Linked DNA regions of Homo sapiens: region 1 is linked to region 2. Evidence: promoter capture Hi-C in human tissues and cell types (Jung and others, 2019). All regions are on one chromosome and are shown on one strand. The core of a region is centred on a gene start or on the middle of the fragment in contact, and the rest is flanking DNA. Distances in the headings are between cores, read along the strand shown. Region 1 has its middle 26 kb from the start of CTIF-AS1. Region 2 holds the start of DYM (dymeclin).

Evidence for each region. Contacts are between HindIII fragments. The study calls those that stand out against the background at their distance.
Region 1: a contact is called between a fragment that was not itself captured here and the fragment with the promoter of DYM in region 2, in 2 of the 25 tissues and cell types used here (IMR-90 fibroblasts and lymphoblastoid cells).

What each region holds. Positions count from the first base shown.
Region 1 is chr18:48,865,220-48,871,284 of GRCh38, forward strand. No RefSeq gene overlaps it. Among named protein-coding and RNA genes, the nearest start is that of CTIF-AS1, 26 kb to the left of the region's middle. RefSeq lists an enhancer at 3,470-3,579. The HindIII fragment of the contact is 7,300 bases long and covers 1-6,065 here.
Region 2 is chr18:49,455,336-49,462,131 of GRCh38, forward strand. DYM (dymeclin) reads right to left here and starts at 5,310. Exons shown (of 18, transcript NM_001353214.3): 1 at 5,063-5,310. RefSeq lists a silencer at 4,709-5,288. The HindIII fragment of the contact is 14,393 bases long and covers 1-6,796 here.

The DNA.
Region 1 (6,065 bases), core at 2,143-4,642, 590 kb before region 2:
GATTTCAGTGGAGTGGGCAGAAGGAGCGATGGTGCAGAATTTGGTGCCGTTCTATAAAAGGACCCATTATCATATGTGCAGTGTGTGTTGCTGGATCCCAGTTTCCCCCAGGCCAGTGAGGGGGACCCTGATAGGGGGACATATCAAGCATCAGGGTCAATACCCGAATTGCCTGGGAACATTTTCAAACTACATACTAAAACAGCACACACATACACACCAATATTTTCAGAATTTGGGCCTTGGGGAGCCCCTCTTCTTACTGGTACATGTGTGCTATGCCTTGGATGGGTGCAAGAGAAAAGATGGTTGAGAGCCGCCATCCATCACTCCTGGAACACAGTACGATGATGGCCATGGAGAGCTGTCATAAGTAGTGCAGAATTATTGTCTGGGGACAGCAGGCCATGCTGCTGTGCTCTTTTGCAATCTCAGGGTCTGCCATCTTGGCTGAAACAACACTGGCTGGCACATCTGCAACATGGGGCAGGGGCTCTGGCAAGTTGCTTGAATGTGGAACAGAATCCATACCATGGACTCGGGCTGCATTCTCACTCCTATGGGCCTTAGGTACTTTTGCCTTCATAGGCCCCTTCTTCCATTTAAAAAAAAAATGGAAATATTATGACTACATTGGTAATAGAGACAAATATATTATTTTTATTAAAACATTTTCTCCCACCTAGAAGTTCATTTTTTTACCCCTGATTTTAAAAAAATTAAAACACTTTGTGGGCCCCTAAAAAACATTTTGTGGGCTCCTGTCTTAGTCCATTCAGGCATCTGTAACAAAGTACCATAGACTTGGTGGCTTATGAACAACAGACATTTATTTCTTAAAATACTAGAAGTTGGATGTCCCAAATCAGGGTGCCAGCATAGTCATGGTCTGGTGAGGGCCTACTTCCCAGTGGCTAATTTATTGGATCTTCATGGCAGAAAGAGAGTAAGAGACTTTGCTGGGGTCTCCCTTATAAGGGCACTAACCCCATTGATAAGGGCTCCATCCCTCTGACCTCCTCACCTCCCAAAGGCACCTCCTAATACCATCATATTGGGGATTAGGATTTCAACATATGCATTTAGGGGACACAAAAACATGCCATCCATAGCAGCACCCTTTGTATATGCCTAACAGGTGTATTGGCCCTACCTGAGTGTCATCTGAGCTGGGAGTCCCACCTTTCTCTGCTGCCCACCTGATCTCTGGGTGACTCAGGGCTGGGGAGGGGGAGTGGTTCAAAAGCAGTCTTCCAAGGAAGCAGTTGGCCCGTGCTGGAAGCAGATGCAGTAGCTGCCTCTGCCCTGGACTGGCTGCCAGCCAGACAGCTCCAAGCGCCAGCCAGAGCAGCTGTGTTTGCCGCGCTAAGGAGGCTGGCCCCTGAGAGCCCGATTCATCACACAGCACTTTCTCCCCTCTGCAGCCCTTTAGCACACATTATCTGGTTACGGTCTCACCAGAGCCCCGTGAAAGAAGTAAATACAATGCTTATATCCATTTCAAATCTGGGGAAACTGAGGCTTACAGAGCCATCCCATAGGTTTGAATGGGGCTTTATAGTCTTTAAATATATGACTATGTTCGATCCTTACGACAGCGCTGCCAGGTGACATGTTTTTGACACCATTGTAAAGAAGGGAGACAGGCTCACAGAAGCAGAGTAACAATCCCATGTCATGGGACCTGTAGGCACAAAGACCAGGCCTCGAATTGCTGCCTTCTTAGTCCTAAGATGGGACTGGTGGGTGGGTATGGGGACCAGGCTGAGGACCCAGGCCACCTTTGTGCCTGAGTCCCCTGATCCAGGCCTGTGGAGTGCAGGTCTGTGCTTCCTGCTCAGTGTCCCATAATTCTAACTGGTCTCCATCTTCAGCCTCCCCATTCACTGGGCATCCCCTGGCTCCCAGGCAGAGTCCTGAGTCTCCTGCAACCCATGGGGGCATCCATTCCATGGGTGGAATCAGTCCCAGGTGACAGATTAAGTCTTACAATATGGCCAGGCCAGGCACAGTGGCTCAAGCCTGTAATCCCAGCACGTCGTGAAGCTGAGGCAGGAGGATCACTTGAGCCCAGGAGTTTGAGACCAGCCTGAGCAACATGACAAGACCCCATCTCTACAAAAAAATATATATATTTTTAACTAGCTGGTCGTGATGGCACACACCTGTAGTCCCAGCTACTCAGGGGGCTGAGGCAGGAGGATCACTCGAGCCCAGGAAATCAAGGCTGCAGTGAGCTGTGGTCGCACCACTGCACTCCAGGCTGGGTGACAGAGCAAGACCTGTCTCTAAAAAAAAATAATAAATAATATGGCCAGGAGGCCAGGCATGGTGGCTCACGCCTGTAATCCCAACACTTTGGGAGGCCAAGGTGGGTGGATCACTTGAGGTCAGTAGTTCAAGACCAGCCTGGCCAACATGGTGAAACCCCATCTCTACAAAAATACAAAAAAATTAGCCGGGCATGGTGGCGCAGCCTGTAATCCCAGCTACTCGAGAGGCTGAGACAGGAGAATCGCTTAAACCCAGGAGGCAGAGATTGCAGTGAGCCAAGACCGTGCCATTGCACTCCACCCTGGGTGACAGAGCGAGACTTAATCTCAAATAATAATAATAATAATAATAATAATAATAATAATAATAATAATAATAATAATATGGCCAGGATCCCACAGCTGACCTGAAGCAGAGATGGTTCAAGGGTGATGCTCTGTCTCCTAGTCTCATCACCTGTGCCCACGTCTTTCAAGTGAACCCCTACTTGGGTCCCACCTTGTGCTGGGGGTGCTATAAGGAAATAAGCAAAGGAGACAATGCCTTAACCACCTTGGCATGGTCAGTCTCCTGGGAGCTGGAATTTCCAGACAACAGACAACCTCTCATAGGCCTAGCCCAACTCTGGGTAGGTCCTGGTGCAGGGTCCCTGCCTGTGGCATCTGCTGTGCTACAGAGAGCCAACACCTGGCCCAGGCCTTCCAATGGGGACCATTCAGGGCTTGACGAAGCTTCACTTTCCAGCCCCAGAGAGGAAGGACCACCATTCCCCTCCCTTCCCAGAACAAATCAGGTGAAACCCAAATACCCACCTAGGCCAAAAGAAGAAAACTTCCAGTGGGAACCAAGACAGGCTAGCAAGGTGAAAAGAGACTTATTCTATAGCATTTCCCCCAAATAACAAAAGTGTGATTAAAGCAGGTGAGAAGCCAATTTTAACAACACTTGTATGCATACACAGACCCTTGCAATTCTGCACACTCTAAAATCTTACTTTTTGTGGCTTAGAATGTTTCAGCACTCAGTGGAGTTTCTGCAGCCAGCAGTCACACCTACAGAGTTTCAAATCCGTGTAAACGCTGTGTCAGCCTAACCACCAGTGTGATTCTGTGTCATTCGGGGGCAAATGTTGATGTTTCTTGGGTAAGTGAAAGATCATGCAGAGAGCTTCCGGAAGACCATCCTTAGGAGCTGAACTGAAAGAAGGCCTCTCAGAGGGGCCACAGCCTCCTTCTCCCTGTGCTAGAGACAAGTCCCTAATAGCCATCTATGCTCAATGGGACTCAATGTGTCTCGGGAGCCTGGAAGCCTTTTTCTGCCCCATTCCTGACATCATGCCACCTACACATCAGACACAAGGCACCCGGCCCACTCCATCACCTCCAGTTCCCAGAAATGTGCAGGGAGCTCAGGTCAGGGCTCTTGAATCTCCTGCTGACCCAGCAGAACATACGACACAAAGGCATCTCAAAGGCAAACAAAATGGGTGGGAGGGAGGCTCATGGCCCAGGCGCGTCATCAGTGCAGTCCTGTTCAGCCAGGGCAAGGCTCAGCCGGGTGCAGCTTAGAGGAAAAGGAGAAGTGCTGAGGCTGAGCAGGTGGGGAGGGACTGTAACTCATGAGGTGTGTCGCCAGATTGGAAAGGGGGCTCAGGGTCCGTGTTGCCTAGCTACTGCCATGTCACTGTGTGACTAACAAGCCCCAAATCTCAGGAACTGCAACACAGAGGTTCACTGTTCCTGATCACAGGTCTGCAGATGGGCTGTCTCTGATCCACACCATGGCCTCCCTTTCTGGTGAGAAGGGGCAGAGCTCAGCATGCAGTGAGTCACAGAAGTTAGAAAGCACGTGCCTCTGTCTACTGCCACCTCTTTCAGGAAGCTCTCCCTGACTGCTCCCTAGTCAGGGTTACAGATCACCCCTCGGGGCTCCCACAGCTGCCAGGGATGTTCTGCCACAGTCCTGCTCCCTGGGCATGGCCATTGGTGTGTAGATGGCAGATGCCTGCTGAGGATGAGCGTGACTTCGTCCCCTCTGTCTCCCCAGCACTAAGCCAGGGCCTGGCCCCAGCAGGTGCCCCATAAGCATGTGGGGGATGAAGGGAATGGTCCAGGTACTAAGGGACTGAGGGGCTTGGGGAGGGAAGAGCCAGCTGTGCCTGGAGCCACATACTCGAGGCAGGGCACTCAGGGCCAGGGAGGAATACAGGGTGGGGCACGGGCAGGGCCTTCCAGTGGGGAGGGCTGGGGGTCCTCAGGGGCCTGATGTCTCACTGTCTAGAGAGGCCTGGAGGTGGGTGGGGAGTGCTCTGTGGTCATGGGTGCCAGAGTCTTAGCCAGTGCGGAGGGCACCTTCGTGCCAGTTAGGAGGTGCCCTTCCTCCAGGTGCCCAGCCCTGCCCCAGAACCCTGGGAGCTGCCTCAGACCCACAGCTGGGCACCCTTGTGTAGGACACAACCTGGGCGCTGCATGTGAGACTCTCTGGGTGTGGAGTGTGACTGTGTTGTGTGGGGGTGCGGGATGTGGTATATACGCACACACGCAGGGAGCGGGGTATGTGTGGTTGGAGAGGGTTGCGTTGTGTGTTGTGTGGGGTGCGGGATGTGGTATATACGCACACACGCAGGGAGCGAGGTATGTGTGGTTGGAGAGGGTTGCGTTGTGTGTTGTGTGGGGTGCGGGATGTAGTATATACGCACACATGCAGGGAGTGGGGTATGTGTGGTTGGAGAGGGTTGCGTTGTGTGTTGTGTGGGGGTGGGGGATGTGGTATATACGCACACGTGCAGGGAGCGGGGTATGTGTGGTTGGAGAGGGTTGCGTTGTGTGTTGTGTGGGGTGCGGGATGTGGTATATACGCACACATGCAGGGAGCGGGGTATGTGTGGTTGGAGAGGGTTGCGTTGTGTGTTGTGTGGGGTGCGGGATGTGGTATATACGCACACGTGCAGGGAGCGGGGTATGTGTGGTTGGAGAGGGTTGTGTTGTGTGTTGTGTGGGGGTGGGGGATGTGGTATATACGCACGCACGCAGGGAGCGGGGTATGTGTGGTTGGAGAGGGTTGCGTTGTGTGTACATGGTGTGAGAATGGAGAATTAGTGTGGTATGCGTGTGGTGTATGTGTGTGTGCTGTGTGTGGGTGTGTGTGATGTGGGGTGTGTGAATTTGTGCTGCACTTTGCAAGCCTCCCAGGCTGGGTGGCCTCTGTGCAGGGAGAGCTGGGAGGCCTAGCTGTGAGGGTGCCACGTCCTAGAGCCAGAAACACAGGTGTCTCAGTGGCCAAGCCTTCGCCTGCCCCTGGGAGTGGGGCCGGCACGGGGTCTGCAATGGCAGAGAACGGGCTGAAGGTCCTCAGTGGGCAGGCACAGCTGGCCTCCCCTCACGAAGGCCCTTCCTTCCAGAACTCTGGACTATCCCTTAGTTAGGGAGGGAACGGTCTGGACAGACTGAGCCGAGGAAAATATTCCTGGTCAAGGGATGCCCTCAGCTTGAGGCGCCTGGTCGGAGGCTCAGAAGAGATCTGGGGGAGATGCCGGGTCCACACAAGGATGATGTTCTGGAAACCGGAACTGCCCAACGGTGGAGGAGGCCGCTTCCTAAGGGAGCAAAGCCCCACACCCTATGCCCTTGATGAGTTCCAGCAACACTGCGGCCCCCTCAGCCATGGTGTTGGAGGAATCTCCCCTTCACGGTGCAGGGCATGGGTCAGAACACGACCCCACAGACCCCTCACCCTCCTGGGTTCTATAGAAGCAGTGGGGATGCCGGGGCCACCTCCTTCCATCAATTGCA
Region 2 (6,796 bases), core at 4,060-6,559:
TGAATATACATCCTTCTCCTTGTCCATCTCTAATTCTCATCTTTTTACACCACTCATTCAGATATCCAAGTCGAGAAATCTAAAGGAAGAGAATGAAAAACAACTAATAGTTATAGTGTATATATTGCTAGGTACATAGAGGTATTTTCATTTAATTCTCTAACAAACATATAAAGTATATATTAGTCCCATTATACAGATAAGAAAACTGAAGTTCAAAAAGGTTGAGTAACATGCCAAAGCAAATAAATGATAGAACTAGGACTCAAACCTAGAGTTTCAAAAAGTATGTAGGTTAGTCTGGGTTCAGAGAAATTAATTATAAAGGAGCAGAGGCCAGGCGCAGTGGCTCCTGTCTGTAATCCCAGCACTTTGGGAGGCCGAGGTGGGTGGATCACCTGAGGTCAGGAGTTCGAGACAGCCTGGGCAAAATGGTGAAAACTCTACTAAAAACAGTACAAAAATTAGCCGGGCATGGTGGCGCATGCCTGTAATCCCAGCTATTCAGGAGGCTGAGGCAGGAGAATCACTTGAACCTGGGAGGCAGAGGTTGCAGTGAGCCGAGATCCCACCACTGCACTCCAGCCTGAGCAACAGAGTCAGACTGTCTCAAAAAAAAAAAAGCAAAAAATGCTAATTCCCTACCCAATCTCCAGTCCTCTCTTCCTTTTAGTAACAGAACTCCATTTTTTTGACCAGGCATATTCCTGTTCAACTAAGATATATTTAAGTCTCTAAGAGTGGACAGTCACTTCTTTATCCCTTCCTCCATCCTGCTGTTAGGAACATGGAAATTTTAGCTAGAACTCCAGCAGCCATCTTGGACCCAGAAATCAAGGGCCATACTTTAGGGTTAACAGTGTAAGAAACTACAAGGAGGCTGGGTTCCTGATGACAGCAGAGCTGCCAAACCAGCCTTTAATCGTCCACCTCTGGACTTCTTTTACAAAAGAAACAAACTAGTCATATGTTTAAGCTATTATTTTTCAGGTCTCTGTTATTCATAGCCAAACCTAAGCCTAACTGATACAGGTAGGGTTTTCAAAGTATTCTGGGTGGAGGGTTGCATGACATATTTTGAAGGAATAATTGTCAAGATTCAGTGACTGACTCAACCTAACAAAGAAATTTGTCATCGATCATATGATGGACAAAAGGTTTTAAATGCCCAAAAGACTGAGCAATAAAAGAAAAGATAAGCTTTTTAAAAATAATTATTCCAATGTCCTTATTGGAAAGTTTCAGCCACTTTCATTGCCTGCATTTTTAAAGAATGTGATAAAAATCAGAGAAGATACCAAAATCACTAACCAAACTTCCTTAAGAAATGAAAAAAACAAAAACTTTTACTAAATAAGACCTATATGTAAAGTTGTTCCCAGCCCCACTAGTTCATTTTGTCTAGAATTAAGTAATGTGAGGATAACTTACAAACTGTTTACAAGCAAAGTTCAAAGCATAAAGCTCTGCTAAAAACCTTACTAGAAAAAAAAATGCTTAAAGGCAAGAGCAGATATTTAATAAGTCCCATCACATTTCCTGATAAATGGTGCACCACCACCAGAAAGCCAGAACCTTCACACCTAGAGACAGTAAGGACTTTGACAGCTAAGTAGGAAAGTGAAACCCACTAGGAAACAGGATACCAAACTGGAGGACTCCCAGAAATCCTTTCAATCTTTAAGATTAGTCCTCTCTCTGTCCGAAGAAAGGAAAAGCAGCAATGGGCATCTTATCACTCTGCTCTTCTAGGCTCACAGCACTCTACCATTCCCAGCTGAGTCACAGAAGAACCTGAGAAGAGGCTGCTTCAAGTCCAAATCTCACAGTAGTTCATTCTGCCTGAAGATATTCTCTCACTTTCATTAGGAGTCTTCTTTTGCTGCTGAAATGGGGGTGCCTTTATCTCCCACTTGGACAGAGAGTCCCTGCCTTCTCATCCTGGGCATGGGAACCATCATTGCCCCCAGCGTGTCCTGTGTCAAGTATCAGGTTAGCCCTCTGATTACACATATATACTATGTTTTAAGACATGAATATGAAAAAGAGACCAAAACGAAATATAGAAAAACTTTACATGGAGCTGTATTGCTTTTATACTTAAATCATTTTTAAAGGTCTCATTTTACCAAAGCCTATACTACAAGTGTCACAGGTATTTCCCATATTTCACTAAAAGGAAAAATGAACAGTCTTCTCTAGATCTAACCATTCCCATTATCTACAATCCTAAGTAAAAGACGGCCCTCTCGTTGCATGTACAGCAGCAAAAGAAATCACCTACTTTCTTAAGTCTCGGCAAAATATTCCAAAATACACTGTGGTAGGTAGAATAATAGCCTCCAAAGATGTCCACATACTAATCCATGGAAGCTCTGATTATGTTGCTGGGAAAAGAGACTTTGCAGGCGTGATTAAATTAAGAACCTCGAGGGGGGATTTATCCTGAATTAGCTAAGTGGGCCTGATTTAATTACATGGGTCCTTAAAAGCAGAGAACCTTTCCCACTTGTGGTCAGAGACTTGAGGATGGAAGTATGATCAGAGAGATGCAACACTGGTGGCTTTGAAGACAGAGGAGGTACGCCACAAGCCAAGGAAAGTGGCAGCCTCTAGAAGCTGGAAGAGGCATAGATGCCCCCTAGAAACCTCCAGAGAAGAACACAGCCTTGTTGACAGCCAGTGAGACCCACTTTGACTTCTAACCTACAGAACTGTAAAATAATAAATGCATTGTTTTAAGCCACTAAATTTGTGGTAACATGTTACAGCAATCATAGAAAACTGATACATAACATTAAACAACTTCTAATAATATGTGAAATTATCTAGAAAAGCATAACCAAATTGCCCAAATATTTGGAGCAATATAAGAAAGAGCCATTTGTACATGTTGTAACATATTTCACTTCTATTTCTCTCCTGCCCTCCATTCATTAAAAAGCCTACCAAAGTGACAATTCTTCAAACTTTCTGTAGAAAAATGAGCCATATTAATAAAAAAAAAAGGAACAATCAGGATGGCAGGATCTAATGGAAAAATCAGGAGATAATTATGCCACATTTTTCAGAGTCAAACATAAAAGCGTTTGCACTGTTTATCCTCTTTGTATCAAATGGATTACCACACTTTTTTAAAGTACAGTAAATCTTTCTAGATATTAAAAACTATTAATTTTTATGTGTGATAATGGTATTCTGGGCCTATTAAAAAGAGCAGGCCAGGTGCAGTGGCTCACCCCTGTAATCCCAGCACTTTCAGAGGCTGAGGTGGGTGAAATGCCTGAACTCAGGAGTTCGTGACCAGCCTGAGCAACATGATGAGACCCCCGTCTCTACTAAAAATACAAAAAATTAGCCAGGCATGGTAGCACGTGCCTGTAATCCCAGCTACTCAGGAGGCTGAGGCAGGAGAATTGCTTGAACCCAGGAGGCAGACGTTGCCGTGAGCCGGGATCACGCCACTGTACTCCAGCCTGAATGACAGAGCGAGACTCTGCCTCCCACCACCACCAACAAAAAAAAGCAATTCAATCTTCTACAGATATATATTGAAATATTTACAGATGAAATTGAATGTCTATGATTTGCTTTAAAATAATTGTGAGTGGGGATAGGAATGCATAGGGACATAGATGAAATTAAATTGGCATGAGTTAACTGCTGAAGCTGGGTAATGGGTACATGGGAGTACCCTTTATTATTTCACTGTGTGAACTTTTCTATGGTTAAAAGGTGCAAAAACATAAAAACTCCTTGACCTATATGTCGTAACAACACAGACTTCTTAATAGCTGAATCTCCTTCCTATTAACATTGCCCCAACTCAGTTCTCTGCCATTTAATCCACTTGCGACTGATAGTTTCATCAATTATTCCAACTCATTTTGCCCTATGTACTCAGTTTATGAGCTTAAGGCAGACACCTAACCTCTAAAAGACTAGTTCTTCATTTACAGAATGGGAATATTCATACTTGTCCGGTCTATCTCCAAGTTGCTGAGAGGATTATCTAAAATAAAACTTCAAAGCAGGATAATCACTCCAGAAATCCATATATTCATAAATTTCATCCTCTGCAACAACCATTCACCCATTCCTATAGATTCTCTTCCCTTCCACCTCGTTCTTCTCTTGAGCCCTCAACTCATCAGCCTAAGCACCTGAGTTCCTCTGGTGGACGCTACATTCCTCTCCACGGCCTCCACCCTCCAGGTTTTCATCCTTCAGCACATCACCCTTGCTCTACACACCCCTCTCTCCAACTTCCCCTCTCCTCTTTCAAGGAACTCACTCCATCTGTGCCCCCTAATCAGTCTATCCTGGGTACCCGCTTTGCTGGCCGATTACAATCATCCCATCACTTCTCTACCCCTGTTCAGTAGAGAACAGCTTTATCCAATCAGCTTTACCACACCAATACCCTCAAACCCCACTACTGCCCCCAGTTCACAAACACCCACCCTTTCACTTTTCAGTCAAAACACAATTGCTCAGGCAAATCCACGGCGACTGAAAGTAGATCAATAGTGTAGGGGAGAGAAGGAGGAGTGACTGCTAATGGGTACGAGCTTCTTTGGGGCGGGGGGGGCGGTGATTAAAAATGCTCTGGAGTTAAGGGTGGTGATGGCTGCTCAACCCTGTGAATATACTAAAAACCACTGAGTTGTACTTTTAAAGGGTTAATTTTCTGATATGTTAGTTATACCTCGATAAACTATGAATGTAAAAAGAAGAAAGAAAAACCCAACAGCTATTGCTCACCCTGCCCATCACACGCCCATTTGTCAGACCAACACCGCCCCATCTCCGGAAGCACCGACTTGGCCTTCGGTATCCCCCAACTCCCAACAGCGGACTCGGACAGAGGTCCGTCCGCTGTCAGCACAGCCCCTCCGGGTGGCCCAGGCGCCCGCGGGCAGGGAAGGGAGGGTCCCTTCGCCGCCGCCCCGGGGCGCTGGCCGGGTTGCGGAGGGTGGCCCCTGACCCCCTCTGACAGGAGGCCGGGGACAGCCAGGCTTTCGGGCCCGGCCGCGCTGAGGGGGGCGGCGCTACAGCCCACCTGTCTCAGCCGGCTGGGGGATCTGCTCCAGCTCCACGGACCCGCGGACGGATGGGAGGGTGGCAGAGGGGTCAGGAGAAGTCGCTGTCGCCGCCGCAGCCCAGGTGGCGCACACCGGCTCAGGCCTCCATGTTTCCACGTCTCAGCGGGTACAGATCCGGCTCCGGTCCGGCCTGCAGCTCGGCCCCGGCTCGGCTCCAGCCCGGGCCGCGTCGGTGCGGAGGCCAGGAGGCGGCGAGAGAAGAGGGAAGCGACCGAGAACGCGGCTAGGGACCAGACCCCCAGGCGCGCGCGCCAGCCAGGTGGTCACGTGGCACGCGGCGCGCGCGGGCTTCTGGAAACTGTAGTCCTTTGGGTGTTATTCGTGCCTCCGCCCTCCTAGTACCTCCTGGGCTACCGCAAAGCCACGTGGCGAAATCGAGAAGCGCAAAAACAGCCGTGCGCGGTGGCTCACGCCTGTAATCCCAGCACTTTAGGAGGCCGAGGTGGACGGATCACGAGGTCAGGAGATCGAGACCATCCTGGCCAGCATGGTGAAACCCCGTCTCCACTAAAAATACAAAAAGTAGCTGTTTGAGACAGGATAATCGTTTGAACCCGAGAGGCGGAGATTGCAGTGAGTCAAAAAGTAGCTGTCTGAGGCAGGAGAATCGTTTGAACCCGAGAGGCGGAGATTGCAGTGAGTCGAGATCGGGCCACTGCACTCCAGCCTTGCGACAGAGCTCGACTCTTCTCAAAAAAAAAAAAAGAGAGAGAGAGAGAAGCGCAAAAACCTCACCTGCCGGGTGCTAGAGTCAACCTCACCTGCCAGGTGCTAGAGTCCTCGCTCATGCTACACCGCTCGTTCTGGCGGCTTAACCTTATTAAGGCCTCTGTTAATTGCAGCTGAATAACCATCCCAAAGTCAAGCAATATTGTGTGGGATTCTGGAGAATTGAGAAATAGCAAAATAATTTTTGATGGAGGCAGCTGGCAGGGCTAGCCCTGCCTGCAAAGTTGTCGGAAAGGACAGGTCCCACGGGAAAGAGTAGCAATATGAGATAGTGCCAAAACTATGGAATTTGAAGTCAAATGAGCTGAGGTTTCCACACTGACGTCTTTGAGCAATTACTTCACCTCTCTCAGCCAGTTTCCTCACCTAAAATATATGCATGATGATGATTCTGCCATTACAGGAAATGTTGACATGACTGTAGTAATAACAATTCACATTATGGATTATTTTCTATTTGCCATGCACTATTATTTCGCAAAATGACCCTATGGAACAGATAGCACCGTTATTCCCATTATATAGTCAATATGTGCCAGTGTACTCTGTAAAGTACTATACAAATATTAGGTATTCTTTTCTAGCATAGACTGCCAGTAAATTCACTGAGCTTGCAGAATTATGACAGGAAAACATATTAAAACCCAAAGTAGACTGGGCCCTGTGGCTTATGCCTGTAATCCCAATACTTTGGGAGGCTAAGGTGGGAGGATCACTTGAGCCCAGGAGTTCGGAAGGACCAGCCTGAGCAACATAGCGATACACTGTCTCAACAAAAAATACAAAAATTAGCTGGGAGTGGTTGGCACACCCTCGGTCCCGGCTACTCGGGAGGCTGATGTGGGAAAATCGCTTGAGCCCGGGAGGTTGAGGCTTCAGGGAGCCATAATCTCACCATTGCACTCTACCCTGGGCAACAGAACGAGACACTGTCTCAAAAAAAAAAAAAAACCCCAAACTAC